7 separate regions of the Homo sapiens genome follow, and regions 2, 3, 4, 5, 6 and 7 are each linked to region 1. Evidence: promoter capture Hi-C in 16 types of primary human blood cells and fetal thymus (Javierre and others, 2016). All regions are on one chromosome and are shown on one strand. Each heading gives the region's core, a stretch centred on a gene start or on the middle of the fragment in contact. The rest is flanking DNA. Distances are from core to core; before and after follow the strand shown. Region 1 holds the start of RBM26 (RNA binding motif protein 26). Region 2 overlaps KCTD12 (potassium channel tetramerization domain containing 12). Region 3 has its middle 8.5 kb from the start of CLN5. Region 4 overlaps CLN5 (CLN5 lysosomal BMP synthase). Region 5 overlaps FBXL3 (F-box and leucine rich repeat protein 3). Region 6 has its middle 15 kb from the start of FBXL3. Region 7 overlaps MYCBP2 (MYC binding protein 2).

Evidence for each region. Contacts are between HindIII fragments. The CHiCAGO score rates a contact against its expected background, and 5 or more counts as called.
Region 2: a contact is called between a fragment that was not itself captured here and the fragment with the promoter of RBM26 in region 1, in 3 of 17 cell types (total CD4 T cells, non-activated CD4 T cells and activated CD4 T cells). The highest score is 7.1, in total CD4 T cells.
Region 3: a fragment that was not itself captured here is called in contact with the fragment with the promoter of RBM26 in region 1 in 1 of 17 cell types (total CD4 T cells); the score reaches 5.5 in total CD4 T cells.
Region 4: a contact is called between a fragment that was not itself captured here and the fragment with the promoter of RBM26 in region 1, in 3 of 17 cell types (non-activated CD4 T cells, naive CD4 T cells and naive CD8 T cells). The highest score is 6.6, in non-activated CD4 T cells.
Region 5: a fragment that was not itself captured here is called in contact with the fragment with the promoter of RBM26 in region 1 in 7 of 17 cell types (non-activated CD4 T cells, naive CD8 T cells, total CD4 T cells and 4 more); the score reaches 11.1 in non-activated CD4 T cells.
Region 6: a fragment that was not itself captured here is called in contact with the fragment with the promoter of RBM26 in region 1 in 4 of 17 cell types (naive CD4 T cells, total CD4 T cells, naive CD8 T cells and 1 more); the score reaches 9.6 in naive CD4 T cells.
Region 7: a fragment that was not itself captured here is called in contact with the fragment with the promoter of RBM26 in region 1 in 2 of 17 cell types (total B cells and naive CD8 T cells); the score reaches 9.5 in total B cells.

Annotation. Positions count from the first base shown.
Region 1 is chr13:79,404,145-79,408,000 of GRCh38, forward strand. It overlaps RBM26 (RNA binding motif protein 26), which reads right to left and starts at 2,111. Exons shown (of 22, transcript NM_001366735.2): 1 at 1,560-2,111. The coding sequence starts at 1,630. It overlaps RBM26-AS1 (RBM26 antisense RNA 1), which reads left to right and starts at 2,165. Exons shown (of 7, transcript NR_038991.1): 1 at 2,165-2,333. RefSeq lists a silencer at 1,667-1,866 and enhancers at 1,776-2,767, 2,097-2,396. The HindIII fragment of the contact is 7,810 bases long and covers 1-3,624 here.
Region 2 is chr13:76,877,435-76,881,290 of GRCh38, forward strand. KCTD12 (potassium channel tetramerization domain containing 12) reads right to left here. Exons shown (of 1, transcript NM_138444.4): 1 at 2,741-3,856. Among named protein-coding and RNA genes, the nearest start is that of KCTD12, 7.0 kb to the right of the region's middle. The HindIII fragment of the contact is 765 bases long and covers 1,664-2,428 here.
Region 3 is chr13:76,981,674-76,985,529 of GRCh38, forward strand. It overlaps the pseudogene RPL7P44 and the pseudogene DHX9P1. Among named protein-coding and RNA genes, the nearest start is that of CLN5, 8.5 kb to the right of the region's middle. The HindIII fragment of the contact is 3,853 bases long and covers 98-3,856 here.
Region 4 is chr13:76,997,198-77,001,053 of GRCh38, forward strand. CLN5 (CLN5 lysosomal BMP synthase) reads left to right here. Exons shown (of 4, transcript NM_006493.4): 4 at 3,261-3,856. The coding sequence ends at 3,772. Among named protein-coding and RNA genes, the nearest start is that of CLN5, 7.0 kb to the left of the region's middle. The HindIII fragment of the contact is 4,399 bases long and covers 408-3,856 here.
Region 5 is chr13:77,015,252-77,019,107 of GRCh38, forward strand. It overlaps FBXL3 (F-box and leucine rich repeat protein 3), which reads right to left. Exons shown (of 5, transcript NM_012158.4): 3 at 3,349-3,471; 4 at 158-329. Among named protein-coding and RNA genes, the nearest start is that of FBXL3, 10 kb to the right of the region's middle. The HindIII fragment of the contact is 949 bases long and covers 1,214-2,162 here.
Region 6 is chr13:77,039,867-77,043,722 of GRCh38, forward strand. No RefSeq gene overlaps it. Among named protein-coding and RNA genes, the nearest start is that of FBXL3, 15 kb to the left of the region's middle. The HindIII fragment of the contact is 234 bases long and covers 2,051-2,284 here.
Region 7 is chr13:77,056,121-77,059,976 of GRCh38, forward strand. It overlaps MYCBP2 (MYC binding protein 2), which reads right to left. Exons shown (of 83, transcript NM_015057.5): 77 at 3,403-3,506; 78 at 2,098-2,286; 79 at 866-973. Among named protein-coding and RNA genes, the nearest start is that of MYCBP2-AS1, 17 kb to the right of the region's middle. The HindIII fragment of the contact is 8,850 bases long and covers 1-3,856 here.

The DNA.
Region 1 (3,856 bases), core at 861-3,360:
GACTTCATACTTACTGTATTTATTATTATCAAAACTAGCCATCCACTTTCCTTCTCCCCTTAACCTGTTCTCTGCCTTCTCTAATATCACCCATTCTGTTGCTTGGGTTATCTAAGGCACCACCCTTGATTTCCCTTTCCCTCATCTCCCGCATTTAATCCATTAATTTTACTTATGAAATGTATTTGGATCTGCCTGTCTCCACCATCACTCTAATGCAAACTAGCCACATCTCTGCCTACAACACACTTCTGAATAATCTTCTTACTTCCATTCTTGCCCTTTCAGTCTCTACAAAATAGGCAGAGTTAAAACAAAATTAAATCAGTCCTTGTCTGCTTTAAATCATCTCACGTCTTCCCATACATGATGTGGCCCCTACCTACTTGTCCAACTTGTTGCCTTTATATCCTCTCCCTCATCACAAGGCTCTTTCCAGCCACAGTGGCCTTTCTCTTCCTGAAACACACCACAATCACTTCTGCTACAGGGCCTTTCATTTGCTCTTCCTTTTGCAAGGAATGTTCTTTTCCAAGACTTTGACACACATGGTCCCTTCTCTTTAGATGTTACTCCAATGTCACCTTCTCTGAGAGTCCTTCCTTGACCAATGTGAAATAGCCCCCCTCATAATCACTTTTACATGATTCTCTATTATTACAATAGTCACAACTCTATTAATATCTGGATTTATTTATGTCTTGTCGATTTTAGAATTTAAAAGCTCTATCCCCAAAGCCTCCCGTAGTATACAGTAGGTACCTAATAACTTTATTAAATACGTGAATTTTCCCCATTGCATTATTGTAAATCAACCAATTCTGATTAAGCACTTTGGTCCATGTCATATTTTGTATTAACAAGTCGTCAAAACACTCCTTAAATTTTCCAATCTAAGACTATTTCAGCACTCTAACCGCAGCCCCCAACACAAAATCTATCTATAGCATCCCACTTAAAACTGCTAAATATTCCATATGGATGAAGATTCAATTTTCTTCCTCCTCTCCAAGCTAACGAACGCGTAGGCGGGAAAGGGGAATTTTACTGGCCACCTCAGCACCTGTTACATCTTCAATCAGTGAAGAGAGGTGCAGATGAGCCAGACAGCACATGGGAGACGTGGCCTTGCTTTCAGGAATTATATTTAGGTGAAACGTGAGTGATTTAAGCTAGAACTGCCCGAATCCCCAATAAAGGCCGTCTACTTCATTTAGAAAAACAAGGTAAAATAATCTGTAGGAAGTAAAATACAGTCGGTTTCACTAAAATAAACCGATTTTGAGGCCCCCGGAAAATATTGCGGGTGGGGGTTGGAGACGGTCTATATATAACGGGAAAACGAGAGCAGCTCAGCAATAAAATAAAGCTCGACTCAGGCTCTCGGGGGTATCCTGAATCTGGAAGCGAGGTGGACGAGGAGGAGAAGCCACAGAACCCTGGGACCTCCGTTCACCGCTTCGGCCTCCACCGCAGGCACTTGGGGAAACTGCACAGATCTCTGGGTCCGCCTATCTCCCACTGCCATCCCTGCAAAGAGATATCCCCCGGATACTCACATGGGCTCGAGAGTCTTGCTGAGCCAGGACTTGAGTGCCTCGAAGTTTTCAATGATCATTTTAGAAACCATCCACAGCGGCCCTAAGGCCCGTCACACTCCTCCGCCCGCCCAGGTCGCGGCCGCTACAGCCGCCGCTGCCCCCGCCCCCTCCTCCGCGCGCCGCCCGCGTGGGCCGCGGTGGGAGGCGCCGGTGGCAGGTTCCCGCGGGCCCCGGTCGGCGAACAGCTCTGCAAGGACCGCCGCAGGCCACAAGTGCACGGGGTGCCAGGAGCTCCCCGTCCCCGGCCCCCAGCCCGGGCTGAAACAGCAACGGTTTGCCCGGGCCCTCCCCCTTCCCTCTTCCCCAGCAAATCTACCCAGACCGGAAGCGCGACACGCGCTTAGACCCGAGCCTTCTCTCAGCCTCGGGACCAGGTGCTTGTTGGCTACGTCGAAAAGGCAAAAGTAAAGAAAGCGAAGGCGAAGGGCAGCTCAATGGGAACGATTCAGGGGGTCTTCCCGGCTCCCAGCACCCCCAAGAAGATGGCTGCCGGTAAATCTCGCGAGAATTGATGAAGTCTCGCGGTGGCTCCCGGAGCCTGCTGGGAGAGACGTAAGGTCGGCGGAGAATGCGCGGGTCGAGTGCTGTAGTTCGATTTTTGCGTGTGTGCGTTGCTTGCGGCCTTTGTGCCTTTTTATTCTTTGCTTACCTTTATGATATAAAGACCTTATTTCTTACAAGGAGGAAAAGACCGCTGACTTCAGAAACAGCGGGAACCCCAGCTCGTCCCCGGTAAGACGGCCGTGGCCTGTCAGCTGGAACGGTCCTGCCGGATGGATCGCTCTTTGAGAGCGTACACTCCCGCGTGCGCGACACCAGGCGGCCCGTAGGTTCCAGGTGCCGAGCACACTACCTCCTCAGTTTACCTAAGTGCCCTACCAGTATCATATTCTGTGTATGCTGTGATGTGAACGAGGTTTGTAAACACAGGCTGGTCTAATGGAGCCCAATGAGACCGCCAGAGGATTAGTGTCTTGTCCAACAGTACTTGACTTGCTGGTAGAGCCCTAATGACTGAGGGCTGCCCACAAGGGAAAGGTGAGAGAACCTTCACGTCTCTCAGGTAGTTTCCAGCCTGCACTTTCCCCCAGCTAAAGATAAGTTTTGTTATTTTTAAAATTCTCTTTATTTAGAGCAAATTCAGCCCTATCTCAGATCGGGAAATTATATAGTATCAAAAGAGAGAGTCTTCATATTAGCAACCCAAATAAATAAACTATTTTCCTGGGTGATCAAATAAGTTTGATTCCTGCTTGAGTTCTATTTAGATACTAGGTGGAATTTTACAAAGGGTCTACGTTCCATGAACTGTAATGGAATGAAAATATTCACAATCTAAAGACATTTTCAGTAAGTAGATCAATAAAAGCTCTTTATGAGAGACACCGATAGGCTAAATTGTTCTTAGGAACTCTTGAGTTTATAATTTGCTAGAGTGAAGTGTCTTTAAGGATTAGGTGGAAAGATTATGAACTACAAAGCAAGACATTTGTTTTAAAATACAGCATATAGAGTAGAATACAAATTAGAATCCAGCTACTGAATAACCAGGGTGTTGATTAAAGTGATTTAGCTGAGTGAAATAAACCAGACATGAAAGGACAAATATTATGATTCCACTTACATTAAGTACCTAGAGTAGTCAAAACTCCTAGAGACAGAAGGTGGAATGGTAGCAAGAGCAGGGGTGGAGAGGGTGCCCAGGAGAAGGGGAAATGAGGAGTTATATTTCAGTGGATAATAGAGTTTCAGTTTAGGATGATTTAGATTCTGGAGATGAGTGGTGTTGTGTGGGTTGCACAATATGAATGTACTTAATGCAGTGGACCATATACTTAATGAAAACGGTAGGTTTTATATGTATTTTACAATAAAAATTGTTTATAAATTTAATACTGCCGAAAGTTAAAATTATATTTGTTTAGTCTGTTTGTTGTAGCCTTGCCACAGGCTGACGCCACCAATATTTTCAACCTTATCACCAGCTACTCCATTACTCTGGCTCTCCACTTCAGCCTTCCAAAGCTTCTATCAAATACTGTATACCCCAGATAAACTGATTTGCTCACCCTCCCTTTCTCCAAACATTTGTTCACTTTATTTTCCACAGAGAACGCTTCTACTTCTTTCCCTGACTGCTCAAACTTTGCCCATCCATCTCTCATACCACTGTCACTGTCTTATTTAAAGTCTTTTATTCTTCCTAAATAATAGCAAAAGCCTTTTAATATCTTTGCCTTTTATGCTGACCTCCA
Region 2 (3,856 bases), core at 796-3,295, 2.5 Mb before region 1:
CCTACTAAATAATTGATGAGGTCTCTCTAAAGACTCTATGTCTCTTGATGATGAGACCTAGGGATTAACAGAACATCAGAGTCTCTCATTCAAACATGGTGTGTCCAATATCACTGCAAAGAAATCTCACTCATGCATAACCTGAGAGGTTTGAAGGGAGAATAAAGATGAACAAAACCTGACCCACTCCCCACCACCCCCATTGCAGCCAGGAGATCTGCACATGGCTTCGTGTGGTCCTCTCATCTGGACTCGCATAAACAGCCTCCTTCCTGGTTTCTGACTCCTGGCCATGCCTATCAAACCCATTCCTCGCAGAGCCCCCAAACGTTCTCTGCAGAATGGAATTCTCTGATTACTTTACACCTTGCTTAAAATTCTTCAGTAAACCCTGAGAACCAAAGTTCAAATCTTGTAATGGGTTACGTGAGGCTCACCCTGATCTGGCTCTTACTGCTTCTCTATGCTTTTGTTTGGTTGGTTGGTTTTGGTTTGGTTTGGTTGTTTTTTTGGTGGGCATAGAGGGCTTTTTGCTTTTGCCATGAGGTTTCAGCAACACTGAGCTGTTTCTAGTTCTTGCTGTCTCCCGATCATTCCTCACTAAGCTGACCTGGACTTAGCAGGCCTCTCCTCTTTCTCTTCTTCACTTTTAAGCCTTTGCTCTGGTGTCTCCTCCTCTAGCAAGCCTAAGACCTGACTTAGGTATCTCCCTTTCTGACTCCCTCAGTTGCTCAGACTATCTTAGCCCTGATTTCCAAGTCATTCTATCATTATTTGGCTCTCTTACTGATCCTCAGCACTTCTGTGTCTTAGTCATCCCCGTTTCCCTATCAGATTGGCACAGTGTGGCACACAGTAAGTACTCAGAGATTTTGAATGAATGAATCCTCAATGGCTGCTCTACAAGGGGGAAAGTTGCAGCAGCCAAGTTAAGAGTTAATGGCCTAAAACAGCCTCGATGACCTCTTTTCTACTTCGCCCCATCCACTACTCTTAGGAGATCTGTGAGGGTAAAGAAGGTGCCCTTGGGCCCCAGAGGGACATTGAAACTTCTTACCTGAGCATAGTAAAGCAGAGAACTTAGGAGGCTGACGTTTTCCCTAAACTATCTCTCAAAAATCAAGCCCAGTATATGCCAACAGAAGTTCTCAACTCTACCACTACCACCATCGCCAAGTTCCTAACGGCAGAAGAGCGTGCACTCATTCCTAGGATACTACAAGCTCAGAGTATCTTTAACATGTAGGGTTTTCTCTCTTAAATTCATGAAAATTTCTCAATCCTTCCATAAAATGAAACAGATTTTTATAAATCACTTACCAGTGAAAGGACCTAATTCCCCTATCCATAGGTACATATCTTAATTAGTAAAACTGAGATTCCAGAAGGCACCCCATATTTCTTCTATAACTTCCCATCCTTTTCCAAATCCCCCCGAGGTGCCTCCTTAAGAAGTATGGGATATAACATGGCTCCTCTAGATATACTGTATACCTAAAACCAAAATATTGGTCATAATTCATTGAAAAAATCTAAAATTTGAAAGGAGGTATAAAACAAAGGGAAGGGGCCTTGTTTCCAATATAAAAGCTACATAAAACTTCACACTTATATACCTAATGACTCTAGAGTGATTTCACACCACCCCCACCAATTCCTAAAAAGCTTCCAGTGAATCCCACTGTTTCCATAGTTCCTCAAGAAGGAAAAAGTACCTCCTGGTCATTTCTCTCTTGGCATCACTTCATACAAAAAAAGCTGGACTCAAATATATTTGCATATATGTAAAAAGACATTCAGTACAGCACTCTTTGGAGTAGAAAAAAAATACCCGGAATTTTAAATGCCTATCAATAAAGGACTTACAAAATAAACGACAGCACATCTAGACAATGGCGTGTCATGTAGAATATCATGTAGCTATCAAACAAAATGAGGTAGATCATTGCCACATGTTCATGCATTGCAGTAGCTCCAGGATATGTAGTTAACAAACAGAAAGCAAGACACAGAACAGGTGTGATTTCTACAGAAAAGATAAAAAAAAAAAAAAGGGAGGCCTCTAGGAAAAACTAGCGGTTACTGGAGGAGGGTTAATCTGTATTACATTTTCAAAAAATAATGTGTCTACACACACACACTTTTAAAACAAAAGCTATCCAGAGGAAGTACAGGCAAAAGGAAAGAGGAAGGGTGAAGCCTGGCTCACTCTACCCGCCTGACTCATGGCTTCCGGTGCCATAACCCAGACGACTTGTTTCTGTGATTTCTCAATCTTAGCAGCACTGTGCCTTCTTTAGAGAGGAGGAACATCAACCACTAGAGATGAGGCAGTAAAGTGCCCCCACATCAAAAAATGCAGCTCCTCTTTCCCAACATTTTTTAGAACCTTCTCATGAACTGTACTTTTAAGTAAAGCACATCTCGAAGCTTCTATTTCCCTGTCCCTATACACAGCAAGTGGCATATGCTGCAGAGAAGTCAAAGAAAATGTTTGTGAAAAACATTTCTTCCATATTAAGTACCAGACCGCCTGGGCATTCTTGACAATAAACTCTGGGGAAAGAAGCTATTTGTGCTTGGTCCTGCTGGCCGGTTCCTTGGTGAAGAGTTCTGATGGCATAATGCTCAGCAGTAGTCCCACAATAATTTGGGAAGTGTTGCCAGTATTTAGAGAACCCCGTAAATGAAATTAGACCAGTGTTCAAGCCAATCCATGCCAAGGAGCCAAGAGGAATAATTAAAGGAGTGAATGTTTTATTCTTTAGTGTTTAATTGAATACATAACAAGTCACATAATCAATGATTCATTACTTCACACACAGGAAGGAAAACAGTAGCTAGTATTTCTGTTATACAACTGGTTGTGAACAGGAAGAACAAAAATCTTTATAGCATTAGATGGTTGAAGAAATTCTCAAAGTTTGGGCATGTCTGAAAAGACTTTGACTGCATCTTTTTTCAATATAAAGGGATTTTTTTCTTACATTTCTGTGTCATTAGAAAAATCTGATAATCTTATAAGATTTTTTCTGCTCTTCTTACATTTAGAGAAAATGGTTTAATGATATGTACTATTTAAAAAATCAGAATCCCAGATAACTCTGTGTGAATCTTACATTGTCTAGCAGATAAGGTTTTCAGATGCCTGGAAAAATTTAAACAACATATAATTTACATCTTCAAAATTAACATCCAGATGGATGTTTTAATCCTTTGTCACTAAATGGTTACTAACGCTGTTTGAGTGGTCATAAATGAATTGTCATTTGTATTCAATAGTAATAGCAAAATTTACCTGCCTATAAAGTCGCAAAAACAGTTGTATAATAGTTTACATTACAATTAATGTACCCATACCTCAAAACACATTTAGAATTTAAAAAAACTGGCTTGGAAAAAAATCACAAAAAATTTAAGTGACAACAAATCTTGATTAACTAGTCCATCTTCCTACCACACATGATTATACTCTAATGTAGATATTCTGGTTGAATTTCTTCCAACCAAGTTTGAAGGGCCCCAGTAGAAAATCAAGTGTTAATACTTTCAGATTTTTATTGTCCAAAACTGTTGACAAAGAAAAGCTAACTTCAACATAACTTGTTTCTGGCTATACAAAGACCTATTTCAGGTGCTACAGATACTGAAAATAGGAGTATTTTACTTATTTCTCAAGAGACAGACTTATGCCATCTAAGAAAATGAATTCAGTTTTTAAATGATTTATAGTAAGGAAAAACAGGAAAACAATTCCAAACGAAGGATTGACTCTGATAGGCTTACAACAAAAATATTCAGTTTACTATTTTAAAAACTAAATTGAGTAAAGTATTTGTGATTTAGACTATAAAAT
Region 3 (3,856 bases), core at 774-3,273, 2.4 Mb before region 1:
GAAGTTGCCGGCTTTGCTTGCCATCCTTGCCATTCAAATTTAAGTTCCGTATATCTGTCTATATTCCTTGTGATAGTGCTTCGCTTTTTCATAGATAAGCTTCCTCCTTGCCTTTCGAAGCATCTTTTGGGCAAACTTCTTTCTCAGGCATTTGATCTTCAGCTCTGTGAAATTTCTTCGCTTTTTCTTAAGGGTTTCTGGTACAGCAGGAAACTTTTTCTTCTTCTCTTTGACACTCTCCATGGTTCCAGCGGGAAAAGAGGAACTATTCCTTTATTATTAAAAGATGAAATCTGCAATATCCAGCAAACATTACTTTCCCTACTGGATCTTTAAATTATTAGTCCCATGTTCCTCTGATAAAAATTCACTAAGCCTTTATGTCCTGGGTGCTGAATAAACCCTGCATTTACTTTCAAGAAGAAACCTACCTTTCTTAACCTGGAGGTAGATTGCTGCTCATAAGTGACAGATGGAGTACTGTAAATCCCCGAGGGTGATTCTAGCTCTTGACCCAGTAGGATATTTACTGTCAACGATGCCTAGATTTAGAAAGAGGATGTAAACGTGGTGTGACACCAGACAGGGCAAAGAGCAACTGCTTGTGGAAAACACACATGCATCCGTCATCACTGCAGATGAGGAGGAAAAGGAGGACAAGGAGTGAATTTGAAAAGCAGGATAACTTAGTGTAGGTCTGAGTGCCCAAGATCAAACCTGACTCCACCCTCACTGCCTTATGTGATCCCGAGAAATTACTCAAAATATCTGTACCAACGTTTCCTCAGGCTGAAAGTAGGAAGTAGCACCTTTTTCATAGAGTTGTTGGAAAGATTAAAAATAGTAAATGTCATCTCTGTCAAAACCTTGATACTAGTGTATTTCTGTTCACTGAATGGTTTGTACCCCTTTAGTTTCCTTGATATACGTTGATTAAAAAAAAAAAAAATTTGACTGGGCCCGGTGGCTCACGCCTGTAATCCCAGCACTTTGGGAGGTAGAGGCAGGCAGATCACCTGAGGCCAGGAGTTTCAGACCAGCCTGGCTAATGTGGCGAAACCCCGTCTCTACTAAAACTACAAAAATTATGTGGGCCTGGTGGCACATGCCTGTAATCCCAGCTACTCGGGAAGCTGAGGCAGGGAGGCAGAGGTTGCAGTGAGCCGAGATTGCATCACTACACTCCAGCCTGGCCTACAGAGCAAGACTCTGTCTCAAAAAAAGAAAAAAAAAATCAACAAAATTGATTAAAATGTCTAATTGGCTTTTATTAGTGACTCATAAAACAGGCAGTTGCTAATCAAAATAGAGGGAGCTTCAATGAGCCTGGCAGACCAGTTGGTTTTCCTAAGGTAGCTTGAACAGAAATAGGGAAACAGGAATACAAAAAGTGAATTGGTTAACATCAGTTTACTTCAGGTTACTTTACTTATAAAGGGTTAAAGCAGAGAGGACTTCCTTAACATGCTGACTTAGGCTGACTGGGCCCTTTCTGATTGCTTGCTGTGAATCTCTTGTTTTTACGAAAAGCCAGTCTATTTTGGGAATTTTCCCGTTTACGTTTCAGTTTGATTACAGTTCGATTACTTAGCACGAGCGACCCCATTTTGGTTCAATCTGTTGCGACCTAATGCAGGGGCTCAGTTCAAAACCATGGCCTCTCATACATTTTATTTAACAACACAAAGAAAAGAGTTTTTGTTCTGAAGCCAATTTTCTTGCGGCTATTGATAAATCGATCATAACAGAACTAAAAAATATATTCAATAAACAAGTACAAGATTAAAGAATTGTCTAAACAATGTAATGTAATAAGCAAAATAAATCCAAATCACTTGATTTAGGATTAGGGTAAGGTGTTCCTTATGGCTCCACAGTTTGTTTTTAAGTATTACCTATTAAGTAGATGTCTCACTCTAATCTCTGCCTTCAGTGAATATTATAAATTTTAATTTTATTAAATTCACACTTAAATGATGCTTTTAAAATTATCTTTGGGTCGGGCACAGTGGCTCACGACTATAATTCCAACACTGTGGGAGGCTGAGGCAAGAGGATTACTTGAGCCCAGGAGCATGGGCAACAAAGTGAGACTCTGACTCTACCAAAAACATTTTATTTAATTAGCCAGGCATGGTAGCACAGGCCTGTAGTCCCAGCTACTCAGGAAGTGAGGTGGGAGGATCGCTTGAGCCTGAGAGGTCAAGGCTGCAGTGAGTCATGATCATGCCACTGCACTCTAACCTGGACAACAGAGCGAGACCCTGTCTCAAAATAAAAATGAAAATAAAATTATCTTTGAACTAAAATAAATGATGCTTTAGGCAAGTGAAATTGTCGAAACTCTGAAAATAGGATGTACGTATAGTTGATGTATTTGTTTAGCCCAGTTTATCATGTAAACAACAGGTTAGTATACCCAAGTTTCAGAAACACTTTGGGGGTTCATTAATTTTTGGTTACCTTTAAGATTTTCTTAACCTCTTACATGAATATTTGTGTCAGGGCCAGGCTCTGTGGCTCATGCCTTTAATTCCAGCACTTTGGGAGGCCAAAGCAGGAGGATCGCTTGAGCCCAGGAATTCGAGACCAGCTTGGGAACGTAGTGAGACTCCTTATCACTACAAAAAATTTAAAATTATTTGGGCATGTTGGTACATTCCTGTAGTCCAGCTACTATAGGGGCTGAGAGATGGGAGGATCACTTGAGCTAGGAGGCTATGGCTGCAGTGACTGTGATTGCACTACTGCACTCCAGCCTGGGTGGCAAAGTGAGACCCTGTCTCAAAAAGAAAAAAAGGAGTAGGAAATTAGTGTGTCTAGGGCCGGAGCTCTTAGGCAAACTGGTGAAGCCCCTTCTCAGAATAATGCTTTTAACGCCTAAAATAAAAAATGAGATTGTAAATGAGAAACTAAAAATTAGCTTGGACTTTAATCTGCCCTCGTATTCATTAGCCTGGACTGATAAAACCAGCCTCAAAATTACCAGAAAACAGTACTTCTCTCAAACCACAGTAAATCATAAAGTGTCATAACAACCTCCTTTCTTTTCTACTTAATTTTTTTTTTTTTGCCAAGTCCTTTATGGAAGTTGTTGTGCGTGTCTCTGTTGTCTTTGTGGAAGGCCAGAGCCACACGGTCCTAAGAGCTGGGAACCAGGAAGCATAGGCTGATCTGAAGAAGACACTTCAATCATGGGTGATATTAAAAATTTTCTGTATGCCTGGTGAGGCAAAAGGAAGATGACTCCATCCTATGAAATTAGAGCATTGGGGAACAAAAGTAGGCAGAAATTCTTGTGTGAGGTTCAGGTGGAAGGGTATAATTACAGTGGCATAGGAAATTCCACCAATAAAAAAGATGCACAGAGCAATGCTGCCAGAGACTTTGTTAACTATTTGGTTCAAATAAATGAAGAGTGAAGAAGTTCCAGCTTTTTGGGGTTGCATCTCTGCCCCCACTTACTGATATTCCTGACACTACAGCAAATGCTGAAGGAGGTTTACCAACAACCATGGGAGGTCCTCTTCCGCCACATCTGGCTCTCAAAGCTGAAAATAATTCTGAGGTAGGGGCCTCTGGCTATGGTGTTCCTGGGACCAAGGAGCCAACTTGAAGGATTACTACTCAAGAAAGGAAGAACAAGAAGTGCAAGCGACTCTAGAGTCAGAAGAAGTGGATTTAAATGCTGGGCTTCATGGAAACTGGACCTTGGAAAATGCTAAAACTCATCTAAACCAATATTTTCAGAAAGAAAAAATCCAAGGAGAATATAAGTACACCCAAGTGGGTCCTGATCACAACAGGAGCTTTACTGCAGAAATAACCATTTACATCAAGCAGCTGGGCAGAAGGA
Region 4 (3,856 bases), core at 1,357-3,856, 2.4 Mb before region 1:
GTGCAATGACACAATCTCAGCTTGCTGCAACCTCCACCTCTTGGGTTCAAGCGATTCTCCAGCCTTAGCGTCCCAAGTAGCTGGGATTACAGGCGCCCGCCACCATGCCAAGCTAATTTTTGTATTTTTAGTAGAGATGGGGTTTCGCCATGTTGGCCAGCTGGTCTCAAACTCCTGACCTCAGGTCATCTGCCCACCTTGGCCTCCCAAAGTGCTGGGATTAAAGGTGTGAGCCACCACTCCCGGCCGTTAACCCACTTTTTGATGGGATTGTTTTTTTCTTGCTGATTTGAGTTCCTTGTAGATTCTGGATATTAGTCCTTTGTCAGATGTATAGATTGCAAAGATTTTCTCCCACTCTGTGGGTTGTCTATTTACTCTGCTGATTGTTCCTTTGGCTGTGCAGAAGCTTTTTAGTTTAATTAAGTCTCATCTATTTATATTTGTTTTTGTTGCATTTGCTTTTGGTGGAACCACTAAACTCTGACCCAAACTATTACTCATGCAGAACTTCACCTGTTGGTGATGAGTAGCTTATCTCTGATCTTTGAATGTTTCCCTAAAAATGCTCTTTTCCCATCATAAAAATGAATAAAATGATAAAACATTTTGTACAATTAAATTGGTCTTTCTAAACGAAATAGTAAGAGAAATCCATAAAATGCCTGATTAAAGGATATGTTAACTATATCTGAAAAAAATTTTAGTGATGATATTTTTATGTTGAAAAATAATAGCTACTAATATAGACTGGTTCTGGCACTGTTCTGAGTACTGTACATACATCACATCATTCATCATCACAACTTCTGGAGGTAGTAACTATTATTTTGCCTATTTTACAGATGGAGAAACTGAGGCACAGAGAGGTTAAAGTTACACAGCTTAGTAAGTGGGACTCCAACCCTGGCAGTTACGCCCCATTGCCCATTCTCCTAACTACTTTGATACATTGCCTCCCAAAATGTATATGATCTTATATTTGAGACCCTCTTGAGCAGTTTAAATATTTTATCTTTGAGATTTTTTTCTTCTTTTGGATGTATTGGAAAGTTGCTGAAAGTTGGAATTGTGTTGCAAGTGCTGCATTGTTGGTTAGTAATGAAAAGAGTTCAGCAATCCTTTCATTGGTAACTCCTTATGTGACTTGGGTCACATTTTATATCTTATTGGCCCGTTGCCTCATGTGCAAAATGGAGACAATATACCATAGCATTTGAGAAGTAAGGAGCTTGTCCATATGATTTATGAAGCATTACATTATAAATTGCTGTTCCCCAGAACAGTAGAAACATCTGAAATGAAAGCACTGTTGTGACAATAATTATTCAGTGAACCCCAGGACTTGAGGAAGTAATCATGCTTCCTATTTGTATAGCTCTTTACAAATGATTTGGAGGTATGTTAACTCACGGTTCAGTGGAGAGGATAAGATACTCATTCTCTGCAAATAAGGAATTGAGGCTCAGCCAGGTAACATGACTTACTTGCCTCTCAAGGTCAAAGAGCTGGATGTAGCAGAATCAGGAATAAAACTGAGGTCTTTTAAATGTAACAAGGATCTGTTAGCCGAATGCACCATGTTGTTTTCTAATATTTCCTGCTACTTTCTAATCAATGTGCCTTAAACCATACCAACAATACAAAAGTCCATCATTAGCGGTTCTTTCTTTCATTCCAGGCCAGTTCACACCTTTCCCCATTTCCACCTACATCGTTATCTGAAAATCCTTCCTTCTGACATAAAGTCAATGATCATATGAATAAGTGATCACTATTTTTTGTAAAATAGTTCAAAATATGCCAGTACTTAAATCTTTTAAGTCATTTATTTGCCTTGTGAATAATCCTGTGATTGACAAAATAGTGTTTTGAAGCATTCTTGTCTCATAAGGATAGTGGTGGCATTTGAAAGTTGAAGAATGCTAAGAACAGTATCCCCAGTTCTAATACAACAGGCTTTATTCTGTTCTACAATTTTAATTCCATAAAATTGATAAAGGCAGTCACTCTATTCATTTTACAGAACATGAAGTATTTATTTTATGGACTCAAGTTGGAGTAACCAAAGAGGTTTGCACACAGTGACAGGATGCAGTGTTTGGGGCCCAGTTCTATTAGGCATTATAAATGCCCAAGATGAGAGTTGTAACCATGCAGAGTAGTGTTTTCTGAATATTTGGAAAGATTCTTCTGGTCTAGTACAAGATGGTAGAAGAGAGGGTTAGCCATCCTGGAGTATGAACTCGGCCTAAAACATTTCCAGTTTAGTTGATTTGTTGGAAGGACTTAACGTGGCAGGTGGAGAGGTCATCAGCAGCATCCCAGCAACTCCAAGTACAGGGAAGAAAGAAACGTACCAAACACACAAGGTGGATGGGGTATGGTGCTTGTTCTCATAACAGTAATAGCCAGCCTTCTAGAGCAGTGGCTCCTCAGGCAGCCATTCATACTTTATGTGTAGCATGCTTTGCAACAGTGAAGCTCCACATTTCCCACACCTCCATTTTCCTTACACTGTCTTTGCCCATTCTGCTTTTCCTCTTTCGCAATTCTTTTTGTGCTTTCCTTTTCTCTTTTGCCTCTGAATCCAAGATTTGGTGAGTTGGGTAGAGAAAGAGAGCTTCTGCATTTGTATAATTTCGCTTTGACTATAGCTTAAATGATTATAGAATTAGTATGTAAGATGACTTCTCCTTATACACCTATTATATCTAATGTTTATAATTCAGAAATATCTTGTGCCTTGAAGAATGGAATAAAATTGGCTGAGCTTGGATTCCTGTTGTGAAATGCAGGTGTGGAAATTCAAAACCATTGTTTACTCAGGCATCCAGTCTTAATCAAGTTAGAACATTTTACTTAAAATTAATATGATTAGGCCAGCCATGGTAGCTCAAACCTATAATCCCAGTGCTTTAGAATGCTGAAGCAGGAGGATCACTTGAGGTTGGGAATTTGAGACCAGCCTGGGCAATACAGCAAGACCCCGTGTTGCCCAGGCTGGTCTCAAATTAAAAAAAAGAAAAATTAAAAAATTAGTTGGGTTTGGTGGCCAGCGCCTGTAGTCCCAGCTACTCAGGAGGCCGAGGTGGGAGGATCACTTAAGCCCAGGAGGTCAAGGCTGCAGTGAGCTGTGATGTTACCACCGCACTCTAGCCTCGGCAACAGAGGGAGACCTGTCTTAAAAAAAAAAAAAAAAAAAATTAACATGATTAGCTTTGTTCACTAGGTGACTTTGTTTTGTTTTTTTAAACTAGGAAACATGTTCAACCAAATGGCAAAGTGGGTGAAACAGGACAATGAAACAGGAATTTATTATGAGACATGGAATGTAAAAGCCAGCCCAGAAAAGGGGGCAGAGACATGGTTTGATTCCTACGACTGTTCCAAATTTGTGTTAAGGACCTTTAACAAGTTGGCTGAATTTGGAGCAGAGTTCAAGAACATAGAAACCAACTATACAAGAATATTTCTTTACAGTGGAGAACCTACTTATCTGGGAAATGAAACATCTGTTTTTGGGCCAACAGGAAACAAGACTCTTGGTTTAGCCATAAAAAGATTTTATTACCCCTTCAAACCACATTTGCCAACTAAAGAATTTCTGTTGAGTCTCTTGCAAATTTTTGATGCAGTGATTGTGCACAAACAGTTCTATTTGTTTTATAATTTTGAATATTGGTTTTTACCTATGAAATTCCCTTTTATTAAAATAACATATGAAGAAATCCCTTTACCTATCAGAAACAAAACACTCTCTGGTTTATAAAACACCTTAATTCTACTGCTCTTTTTTCTCCAATCACCAGCATCTGTTTTTCAGGGGGTGATTTTACTTTTGTGAATTCCTTAG
Region 5 (3,856 bases), core at 438-2,937, 2.4 Mb before region 1:
TACAGAACTTATGCTATTCTATTACTACATTAAAAATATTTTAAAGAGATGAAGCAGTCATATTAATCCACCTTCAAGGTTAATGATCATAGTTTTTTCTAATTTGAACATAGCAATGCATTTTACTAAAATGTGTCTAGCAAAAAACACAACATACCTGCTGGAGAGACATGAGGACAGCTGCTCATTTTCAACAGCTTGAGTGTATCACTATTGTTGGCCACTAGTACTTTGAGAGATGGATCATCTACTGGAGTATCATCTATCTTAAGCGAAGACAGGGATTTGGAGTTTACGAACACAACTGTCAGTGCAGAGATAAAGTGAGACTGAAAAGCAAAAAAAATAAAATAAAAATTATTTCAATTTTTAGAAATGAGAATCAAGGGGTTTCCTAGTACTACAGTTTATCTGAACCATAATGACATATTAATATTTTGTAAATGTTTTAGGGGTGGCATCCCTTCACTCTGTTGTTGGGAATATGGTAAAAATAGGTGACTATCTGTCATCTTTGAGAAGAGTCTATTTATGTGTGGGGGAAAAAAGCATTTCAAGCCTCAGGATAAGTGTCTCTAAATCAGAGAAACCACTGGTAAGTAAAAAGAGGAATTCTGGAACCCAGGATGAGAATCTCTCTCAGACACTTCATTTTGCCATATCTGGAAACCCTAGTGTTCTATAACACTAAACTGCATTTCTTTTCTGTTTGATAGTTATGACCACTAAATAGTAACTATTAACACCATCATTAAAAATTAATAATTTATTCAAAATCTATGACAGACTCATTTGAGATATGAAAACTCATAGAAAATTTGATTATAAAACAATCAAAATAATACTTAAAATTCCAAGTTTAAAACTCCTTCAAATGTTATCTACAATATTTTCAAGTCTTCTATTTTAATGTATTTTGATCCACAAAAGCACCAATGAGTATCATTCATCATATATGTATATATTTGTATGTATGTACATATGTGTATATACACACATACACACACACACGTTATATATCTGTTGGACAGGATTTGATCTAAAGGAATCAATGTAGGCAAACAGGAATTAAAGCATTCTCAAAGTATGCAGCTCTCAATCGGAGCTAAGATATGAGTTGAAACCACTGGGCAAAGAATCTAGGAGAGTAAAGAAAGGCTAATACATGGTCTAACACATTCCTCTCTACAAAACCAACTTCATGCTCCAGTTAAGCTTTATAAATTCTCTACAGGAGTGAAAAAGGATAAGGGCAGGCTAAGAGCCAAGAAAGTATAATGAAACATTACTTTTTTTTTTTTTTGAGACAGAGTACTGTTCTTGTCACCCAGGCTGGAGTGCACTGGCACTCCTTAGCTCACTACAACCTTGAACTCCTGAACTTAAGCAATCCTGTTTCATCCTCCCTAGTAGCTAAGACTATAGGTGTGAGCCACCATACCCAGCTAACTTTTTTTTTTTGTAGAGATGGGTCTTGCTATGCTGCCCAGGCTGATCTTGAACTCCTGGCCACAACAGAACCTCCTGCCTCGGCTTCCCAAAGTACTCCAATTATAGCTGTGAGCTACCACACCCAACCAAAACACTACCTTCTTGATCACAATTCCCTAATTTACTTTTTCCCTACTGTGATTAAACAACTGGTTAACTAGATTTTGATAAACTATTTAACTACTTAAATGTTAATATTTTTCTCCTAATATTTTCATATCAAACTCAATTATATCTTGTACAAACATATTTCATTTGCAGTCTAATGAGTGCATCACTGACGTCTTTCCCCATTTCCCCAATTTAGCTCTGGACAAAAACATTTCTTCTATGTTCTCTTCAGTTCTCTTGGGATTTCCAAAATATTGCAACGCCCTACTTCAATCTTCTACCAAAGCCATAAAAGGAAAAGAAAAAAAGAAAAACAGTTATTAAGTATCCTAGCCTCACTTAATAAGGGAAGAAGCATTCTTTCCATTAGCTCCATTCATGGTTCCCAAATTAGTACTAGATATATGCATAGTGATAAGAAAAAAAAGAAAATTAAATTATGTTCAACATATCCTTTAATATGGTATACATACATACCATATGAGTCAGTATGTATATTTGTATTTTAGCTATGGTAGGTACACTAAAAATCAATTCAGATTGTTTCATTTCCTATTTGAAGCTTGAAGGTGGCGCTATACCATGTAACTAGTATTTCTTAGCGTGAGTTCCTTTAACCATCTTAATCAGAATCACCTGGACTGCTCACAGGAAGAGAAGACTTAGAATCACCCCGAATTTGAAAAAGGGATAGAAATCCAAAATTTAGGAGGCTATTCAGAAGATTTTTACACATTAAGTCGGAGTACCACAATGATCTTTCTGTACTTAGGATCTTAAAATATTAAGATAATCAGATTCTCCTGCCCATTTCCCTTATTTTATATGTGAAGAAAAACATTTTATCTCAAAATATACATATGTAATGAAAATGTTTCAAAATCAATTAAGACTTTGACATCAACTGGTGATTTATTTGGTACAGACATTCCACTGAAACGACCACTTGGGTTAATATATTCAATTTAGTTATATTCCCTCCTCAATCATCCTAGTACATTAAACTACTAGATACTTAAAAGGGTGTCTATATTTTAGTTTTCAGTGTCTTCTGGGAAAAAAATATCAAATTATTGTTGGATACTAACCTATTAACCATTAGCTAACATATTCAGACACCTTTACCAGTTGCCTTTCTAAAAATGCACCCTTCTTATTTTTGTATTTTAAGAGAATAGTTGTGAGAGAGAGACACGATCTCTGATTATATGCAGGATCATGTTAGAATATATATAAGAATATATGTTAACTTTTCACCCAAAGAAAGGATGTCTTTAAGTCTGTAAATTAATCTAAACTGTGCTGAGACTAACTTTGGTCATGATTAAATCTTTCCAGAACATTTGCCAAAAGATTTTAGAAGCTATACCTGCTCTCAATATTGGCACTCTACTTTTCTTTGATTCTAACTTCACCAACCTGCTCTGGAAGCCCCAAAATGAGTATCTATGTGTCCCTTTTTTTCTAATATGCTTGACTCTATTTTACTTACTGAATTTCTTTTAATACTTCCTATAGACGCCTCTGTAAATTTCTTTAACCATACCAATTTAGAAGTATGGTGATTTAAAAAAAAAAAAAAAAAAGCTTAAAAAAATACTATTTATTTTCATCCTAAATAGTAACTGGTTTTCCATTATGTATATATATAACTTTCCTTATACTCACACTGTCAATACAAAAAAAAAAGATTAGACTTTCACTGAATTTCTCAGTAATAGATAATAAAACAAAAACAGCAGATACCTTTGGTAAATCCATAAAGCTTGGTCGAGCAGTTGAAATAAGTCCAAGTGTTTTTAAAGAGCAATTCACAAGTTGCGATAGTATATCACAAGCTGCTTCAGCTGATTCCTTGCTGCTGTCCACCTTAGAAAAGAAACACCGTTTACTCATGAATATTTTATTATTTTTTTACTTTTTTCCCCAAATACCCAGACTTCAAGATTACTCATGTATATATTTATATTTCTCTGTACACATATTCATTTTATAGAAGTATCATTACTAGTTTATTGCATTATAACTTAAAGAATATTCTTTCAATCATCCACCCTCCACCCTCACCTCCAACTTGGCCTTTTCTAAGTCTCTCTGAAAAAGTATAAGGGCAATTGTCAAGACAAGACCTAGCTTTCATTATGATAAGAGACATATTTAATGTTGGCTTTTACACTGATTTATTCCAAAGTGACTGTATAAACTAATGGAGTAAATCAATTTATAGTCTTTAAAAAATAATTATGTATTTGGT
Region 6 (3,856 bases), core at 918-3,417, 2.4 Mb before region 1:
CTCTTGCCTCTCTTTCCCATATTAGAACTCTTGTGATTACATGGGCCCATGGGGTCAATCCAGTGTACTCTTCCCATCACAAGATCTGTACCGTTAATCGCATCTGCAGAGTCCATTTGCCATGTAAGGCAACATCTTCACATCCCAAGGGCTAAGACGTGGACAGATTTGGGGGGATGGTTATTCTGCCTGCCATGACTGTGCAGGGCCACGGTAAGCCCTCAATAAATGCTTTGTCTAATGGTTATAAAACCTGGATTAAGGTCCTTAATAACATTGAATTATTTGCAGGATTCTGTATTTGTGTTCCATGGCTGTCTCATCCTACCACCTGGCAGAGCGCGCCACACATCTTGACAGACTCTCATGCAGTTCATTCATCAAGCGCCTTCTCTGTAGAAGTCGTGGTTACTAAACACCCTCATGAGAGTGTACTGTCAAGTGTGGACCTAGACCAGGTGTTCAAATATTTATTAAATTAACGAAGCAAAACAGCTTACCTGGTGCTTCTGAGGAACACGTTAATGCCTCAGTTCTCACCATCATCTCTCCCTGGAATGCCCTTTCCCACTTTTGCTTGTCAAAACTGATCTATCCTGAAAGACTATCTGCGTTGGCTTTTTTTTTTTAAATTAACAGATGAACATTGTATGTTTTAAATGAAGATATCTCTGACCTTGCTTGTTACTGGAGAAACTTACTGTAAAATTGATGGCCTTTTCTTGAGCAATTTGATAACATTGTATGGTTACAGCGAGACACTAATCTTTAACCTTGGCTTTTTCTTTCATAATTTTTCTTCACTGTAACTCCCTCCAGCGTATATCTTTTTGTAGTCTTGTTATTTTTTTCTAAGCCACCCTAAGACATTTGAGAAATGAAGCCATAAGTAAGTCATTTAAAATGTATTACCCTCCTGTGTCAGGCAGGTCCTCTAGGAAGCAGATGCCAAGATTAAGTTAGAAGTGCAGAAAATCTGTTGGGGGTAATCCCTATGAAAGATAAAGTGATGAGGGAGCAGGAGTGGGCAGGGAGAGCCATTAGACTGTGATGCAGGTCTGGCATCTAGGAAAGAAGAGAGAAGGAAAGATTGGGTAGGAAAAGCCTCCGACTGCAGGGCAGCTGTAAGACAGTCTCAGTCGGCCTGAGTTCTTACGCAAGACCGCGCACGCAGGAGTGCCGCTTGGGCAGAAATGGCCAGGCCCGAGAACCCCATCTGAACTCTATCACAGGCTGGGGCTGCCCTGGAGGAGTGTGACATTGGGTCATATGTGGGGGTGATTAAAGCTGGAGGCTGTCAGCTAACTGGACTCCTTGAGGTGGGGCCTCCCCTGAAGGGAAATCTGGGTGGAGGTACCTCCTGACGACACTGAACACTCTTGGAGGCATATGCTGTCTTGTCCCCTGTGCAACCTTGGCCATACGATAAGTGTCCTGAAATTTAAAACTTTGAGTACTGACATGCCTGATACCCAAATAAAATGCTCACTGGAGCATTTTGGATTTCAGATTTGGGATGCTCAACTGGTAATGCAAATATTCCCAAACCTGAAAAAACCCGAAATCAGAAACACTTCTGGTCCCAACCATTTTGGATAAGATGTATTTCATAAATTAGTATTTCTTTTCATAGAACTAGCAGTAATGTAACAATAATAGCATGATGTGATAGAGCTTGGGCTTTAAACCCAGAAAGCTGTGAATTCACATCTCAGGATTTTTTTTTCTGAAGCTAAACTACAGCTGGAATCTAGTGCAAATAATTTCTTTAAACAGCCAAAATGGGATTAATAATGCTTTACTCTCAGAGTTGCCAGGAGGATTAAATAAAATGCCTAATTTCACTGGCTGCCTTTTAGGAGGTGTTGAGTAAATGTCCTCTCCTTTGCTCTCTCTTGAATAGTTTATTGTGGGATAAAGCACTTTTGTATATACCTTCTCATTTGATTTTGATTTGGAATAATTTCTAATAAATTGAGATTTTAAAAGGTATGTGGCTGACTCAAGGCCACCCAAGCAAAAACAAGGCAGAACCAAGGCTTGAATTCAAAGCTTCTGGTTTCCATCCCAGCACTCTATGCACTATCGGCAGTTTTCAGGAAAATGAGCCGCAGTGTTCCATCATACAGCCAATAGCAGAAACACGTGATGATGTATAGGTAGAATACAGTGACACAGTGGGCAGGGAGATATATTGGGCTGAAAATCTGAAAAACAATACAAATTACTAAACATTCTGAATGAAAAGTGAATAAAGGGAGCATTGCATATATTTTATCAAATAAGCTTATTGAGGTTGGGTGCGGTGGCTCACACCTGTAATCCTAGCTGAGGCAGGTAGATCGCTTCAGCTCAGGAGTTTGAGACCAGCCTGGCCAACATGGTGAAACCCTGTTTCAATTACAAAAATTAGCTGGGCATGGTGGCTCGTGCCTGTACTCCCAGCTACTTGGGGCTGAGGTGGGAGGATCACTTGAGCCCAAAAGGCAGAGGTTGCTGCGAGCCGAGATAACGCCACTGCACTCCAGCTGGGGCGACAGAGTGAGACCCTTTCTTAAAAAAAAAAAAAAAAACCCAAAAAACTCAAAAAACCAAAAACCAAAACCAAATAAGCTTATTGATAAAATAGGGAGATTTTAGGCCTAAACAGTCTAGCCATAATACTAAGAAAAATGGCTTTTCCTAGGCTTGAAAATATAACGGAAAAACAATTTCTTTCCAGGAAGATTCACTGACATCTACCACTGTGATTCTGCTTTCTGTCTCCTGCCTTGGATGTTACATGCAGTGTTTGAAGGATGGTCCTTGTGTGTAGGATGCTTGAGCTAAAAATGCCTGCCAAAGCCACTCCTTCCTGTGCTTTGTCATAATTTATTGCTAAGATGTTTATGTTCTCTGGTTTTGAGGTGCTAGAGATCCTGACTAAAAGTGACTTCCTCATAAATGAAGATAAGTTGAAGTCATTGTGAGTATTCACTACACAGCTTTGTTGATTTTATCCCTTTCATAACTTGAGATGGCTTTTTTAGCCAAGCCATCTCAATAGTTTGTTTCTTTTCCTCTACGATTTACAAACTGAGCTGACCAGTTTGCCAGCAAAGTTAACTGACGCAAGATGGTATTCTTCGCAGCTATTAAGTGTCCATAAAGTCTCTTATCTGTGTGGCATTCTCAAGGTTAGTTTCATTCCTGTGGCCTGTGAATTTAAGTCAAATATACTGACAGTGTCAAGTCAAATATACTGACAGTGTCCTCACTGCATTCTCCCCTCCAGTTTTCTTGTAACAGCTTTAGTCTCTCTACGTACTTTGTGTTTTCTGGAAACATTTTCAGTCAATCCTAAGCTTGAACACTCATACTTACTGTTCTTTGATCATATTCTAGATTTTCCTACTTAGGTATTTCTCATGCCTTTCTCCACATCTCTGCTCCTTGAAATGCTACTTATTCTTCAAAAGGCAGCTTAAATGGCCTCTTAGCTACACTCCCAACGACAAAACAATAATGATTTTTCCTAAATCCTGAAGCATTTGGCTTGGATATTTTTATGAAACTTATTAGAACATTCTGTAAAATAGTTACCTGTGCTCAGATCTGATCTTTATTTTTTAAGTTCCTTCAAGGCAAAGATTGTTTTAAATTTCTCATAAATGCTTAACACAAATGTCATTAAATTTGTCAGTAATTCTATATTGACAAATTAAGTTCTATATTTCCCACAGTTGGAATTTAGAACAAAATGTGATTAAAACTTTTGCTAGTCTTGGCCAGGCGCGGTGGCTCACGCCTGTAATACCGGAATTTTGGGAGGCCGGAGGCGAGCGGATCACCTGAGGTCAGGAGTTCAAGACCAGCC
Region 7 (3,856 bases), core at 750-3,249, 2.3 Mb before region 1:
TGTGTGTGTGTGTGTGTGTGTGTGTGTGTGTGTGTGTGTTTTGCTTCCTTGAGGGGAAGGCAGAACGCCAGGTGACAGAAGTGAACAGGTAGTATTTGCTGTAAAACTTTCATGTATCTATTAATATTTGTAGCACCATATGATAGGGGAGAGCAAAATACTACAATCTTTTTGATTATTCCTCAGTCTATCTAGACAATGATTGTGCTAAGTCTTTCCACATTCTACCCTTTATATTAGTTTGCAAATACGAAGATAAGAAAATAGGGAGAGCTTAATAGAACAAAAAGGGGCGATGAATTAATAGGGAAAGTACTGCCACATTCTTCAAAAACAGCTTTTTGTTAATCATTATTAGCTTGCCAAAACAACTTCCTACTTGCTGACTACCTTTGTACAAATGTGTCAAAATGCCAAGAACTTTCTCCTTGTTTTAACTAAGCTCTAAAAGAATCTGTTCTAGTGGTACTGAGGGTTCCAATTTCACTCTTTAATGGCAGGTATCAGTTTCTACAAACACCAGAGGATCATTCTTCTTTTTGGTAGCCGTTGTCATGTTATGTCAACTGAGCTCTCTAGTGGTCTGAGAGTAGAGATGCATGCCCTTTAATGCATCACGATGTTTAAATGAACTTTCTCATGTAATATGTTTAACAGAATGTAATCAGTTTTAAATGGACAATTACTGTTTTGAGATGCATTATAACAGAGAGATTATATTCTCAGGTTCCACATGAATGAGAAGGGAAGAAACTGCTAGGGGCTGGTGGGTAAAACCAAGAGATACTGACATATGTTTATTTTGAAAGGTGAAAAGAAAGAACAAAAGAAAAAGAAAGTACATGATTTCAGATTCTTTCCATACCTTGCAAATGGGACAAGATATAAATCCAAATGTTATCCTTGGGCCAAGCCATCGATTTTCTAATACTCGCCGACAGCACTGTAAGTGGAATATGTGACTACAATCCAGCTTAAATAAACAAAAGAAAAGGACATAAGCAAATATAATAATGATAAACAGTTGAGTGACTGGGAGATTATTTAATGCAAGGCACTACTTAAAGCAGGTAAGAGAAAAATCAAGAAATTTACTATAATGAAAATTCATTGGGACACTGAAATTGGGACATTATTATTTACTAAATTTCATTACAGTAAATTGGGATACTATTAACTAGGCCTTTGGCTTCTCCTGCTTTTTAACATTCATGCCACTTATATAAAGTAAGCTAGGTTAGGAAAAAAAGTAAAATTATTCAATTTTGTATCTCACAGAAAGAAGAAGAAATTACTGACTTATGATTTTCTTTTGGAGACTATTATTATCTTGGAATCATGAGAACTGAAAATATAAGCAATGGGCAAAAGTTAAAAAAACCTATTTAGTGCACAGTAACTTGTGTATGTATAGAAGTATGTATCATTATGTATAGATCAATTATATAATGTTGTAAAAATACCATTCTGGATTTTGGAAATTAAGAAGAGCCTTAGCTACTGGGGGATAATCTAATTATTTCCCCCTGGCTTCTGAATATTTTATACATTCTGTTGATTACAGAGGTTCACACAAATCACAAATTAAAGCTGAGCATGCAACATAGAAAGCACAGCATAAAGAGGCAGAATTTGCTCCTCATTAGCCTGGTACATGTATAGATTAAAAGAACACTTCTGCCTAGTGATATAAAAAAAGATTTCAATCAACTGCTTTTTTTTTTTTTTTTTTTTTTGAGACAGAGTCTCGCTCTGTCACCAGGCTGCAGTGCAGTGGTGCCATCTCAGATCACTGCAAGCTCCGTCTCCTGGCTTCATGCCATTCTCCTGACTCAGCCTCCTGAGTAGCTGGGACTACAGGCACCCACCACCACGCCCAGCTAATTTTTTTGTATTTTTGTAGTAGAGACGGGGTCTCACTGTGTTAGCCAGGATGGTCTCGATCTCCTGACCTCGTGATCCACCTGCCTCGGCCTCCCAAAGTGCTGGGATTACAGGCATGAGCCACTGCGCCCGGCCTCAATCAATGTTTATTTGACAAATATATTCCCCATCTTAATGTCTGGATACATTCAATACTTTAAAAGCTGAGGCAACCTGAATGGCTGGTGCTGCCGAGAGCGCTTCGGTGAAACATATCATGCACATGTCATCGGCGTCTTGCTTCAGGCTTGTGGCACTTTTGTCACAGCCGTGTAGACAGGGCAGACAGTGCTCTTCGTTTTTAACACCCCCGCATGGATGGCCACAAGGATGCGTCTTACTACAGGCTATCTTAGCGTATTCCTGTTAAAGATGAATTACAATGTTACACAAGTATGTAAAAAAGCACACATTCTGGTAATTTTCCTTATTATATAAATTTCCAAAGATTACTTTCCCACAGGAAGTATCTATGCAGGCCAAGTAACAACAAAGTAAAGTTATTTCTAATCTTTGTTTGAATATAAATTAGGCTTCTTAACAAAGTTTTTTTTTTTTGATGCGATTTTTAAAAAATGCCACTCTCTATAAAGGGAATGCTGATAAGTGAATTATAATTTCATATTTGTCATCATGCACAGCTATAAAGCAAAAAGTTCCTGGCTGGGAGTCGTGGCTTACACCTGTAATCCCAGCACTTTGGGAGGCTGAGGTGGGCAGATCACGAGATCAGGAGTTTGAGACCAGCCTGACCAATATGGTGAAACCCCATCTCTACTAAAAATACAAAAATTAACCAGGCATGGTGGCGCGCGCCTGTAATCCCAGCTACTTAGGAAGCTGAGGCAGGAGAATCGCTTGAACCCGGGAGGCGGAGGTTGCAGTGAGCCGAGATCGTGCCACTGTACTCCAGCCTGGGCGACACAGCCAGACTCCGTCTCAAAAAAATAAAAAATAAAAAAAGTTCCCCAATGTATAATTTCCCAGTCACCACTCTCCGCATCACCAAAATGCAGATTTTTTTTTTTTTTAAAAAGGTACCTTTGACTCTCTGAGCATATCCACATTCTTATTAATTGAGAAACCAAAAACATTTGGACAACATAGAATATGTTTATATATGTTCAGGATTAAAGAACTCTTAGATGTTGAAAATGTATTTTAAGGAAATAAGTGAATAATGTCTGTAAGAGATAAAGGAAATACAGTTCATAAATTTTTAACTGTTTCTAGTACAAAAGTAGATATTAAATACATATGATCATGGTAACTGAGAAACATACAAAAAGAGTGTGGTTTGGGCTTGAGAGCCTTATTTGACCCATTCTTCAACTTTGGTAAGGCATTTGATGCTTCACATAGGTAATACACTCATTTAGGAAGCTGGAGTGACGCTGAGCTAAAACTCTTTTCTGTATGAAGTAAAGGTGTCACAGGGGAACATGGACAATGGGATGGCCTGTGTCACTATATACTCACCTGGCAATCTGCATCAGAACAAACACTGCCAACAGCAGATAACTCTGTTCCACTCCTGGAACCACAGAAGCGACATGCTTCTGAGCTACTCGTGGTGGGTTTGCCTAGGTTCAAGCAGAAAAATAAAAATCCTTCTTATGGATGTTTTCTAGATATGTTAACAGAACTAAATTTTAAAAAGCAAACTAGGTTTGTATAAGTTGCTATCCTTGGGAAATCAGCCTGACAGTTTTAGAACGGAAGGTTTCTAAGTTGTCCTAATTATAAAGTAAATAATGACACACAAAAAAAGAAATTAAAGACCTATCTGAAGCCAAATACACTCTCGACTAATATTTTTTTTCAGTGAAAGAAACAGACTAGACTTCTAGTCAAGTTACCAGACTGAGCAGCTGTTACAAGCCCCTGACTCCAAATGCACAATACCATAAAAAATATGATAACCAAAAATTAA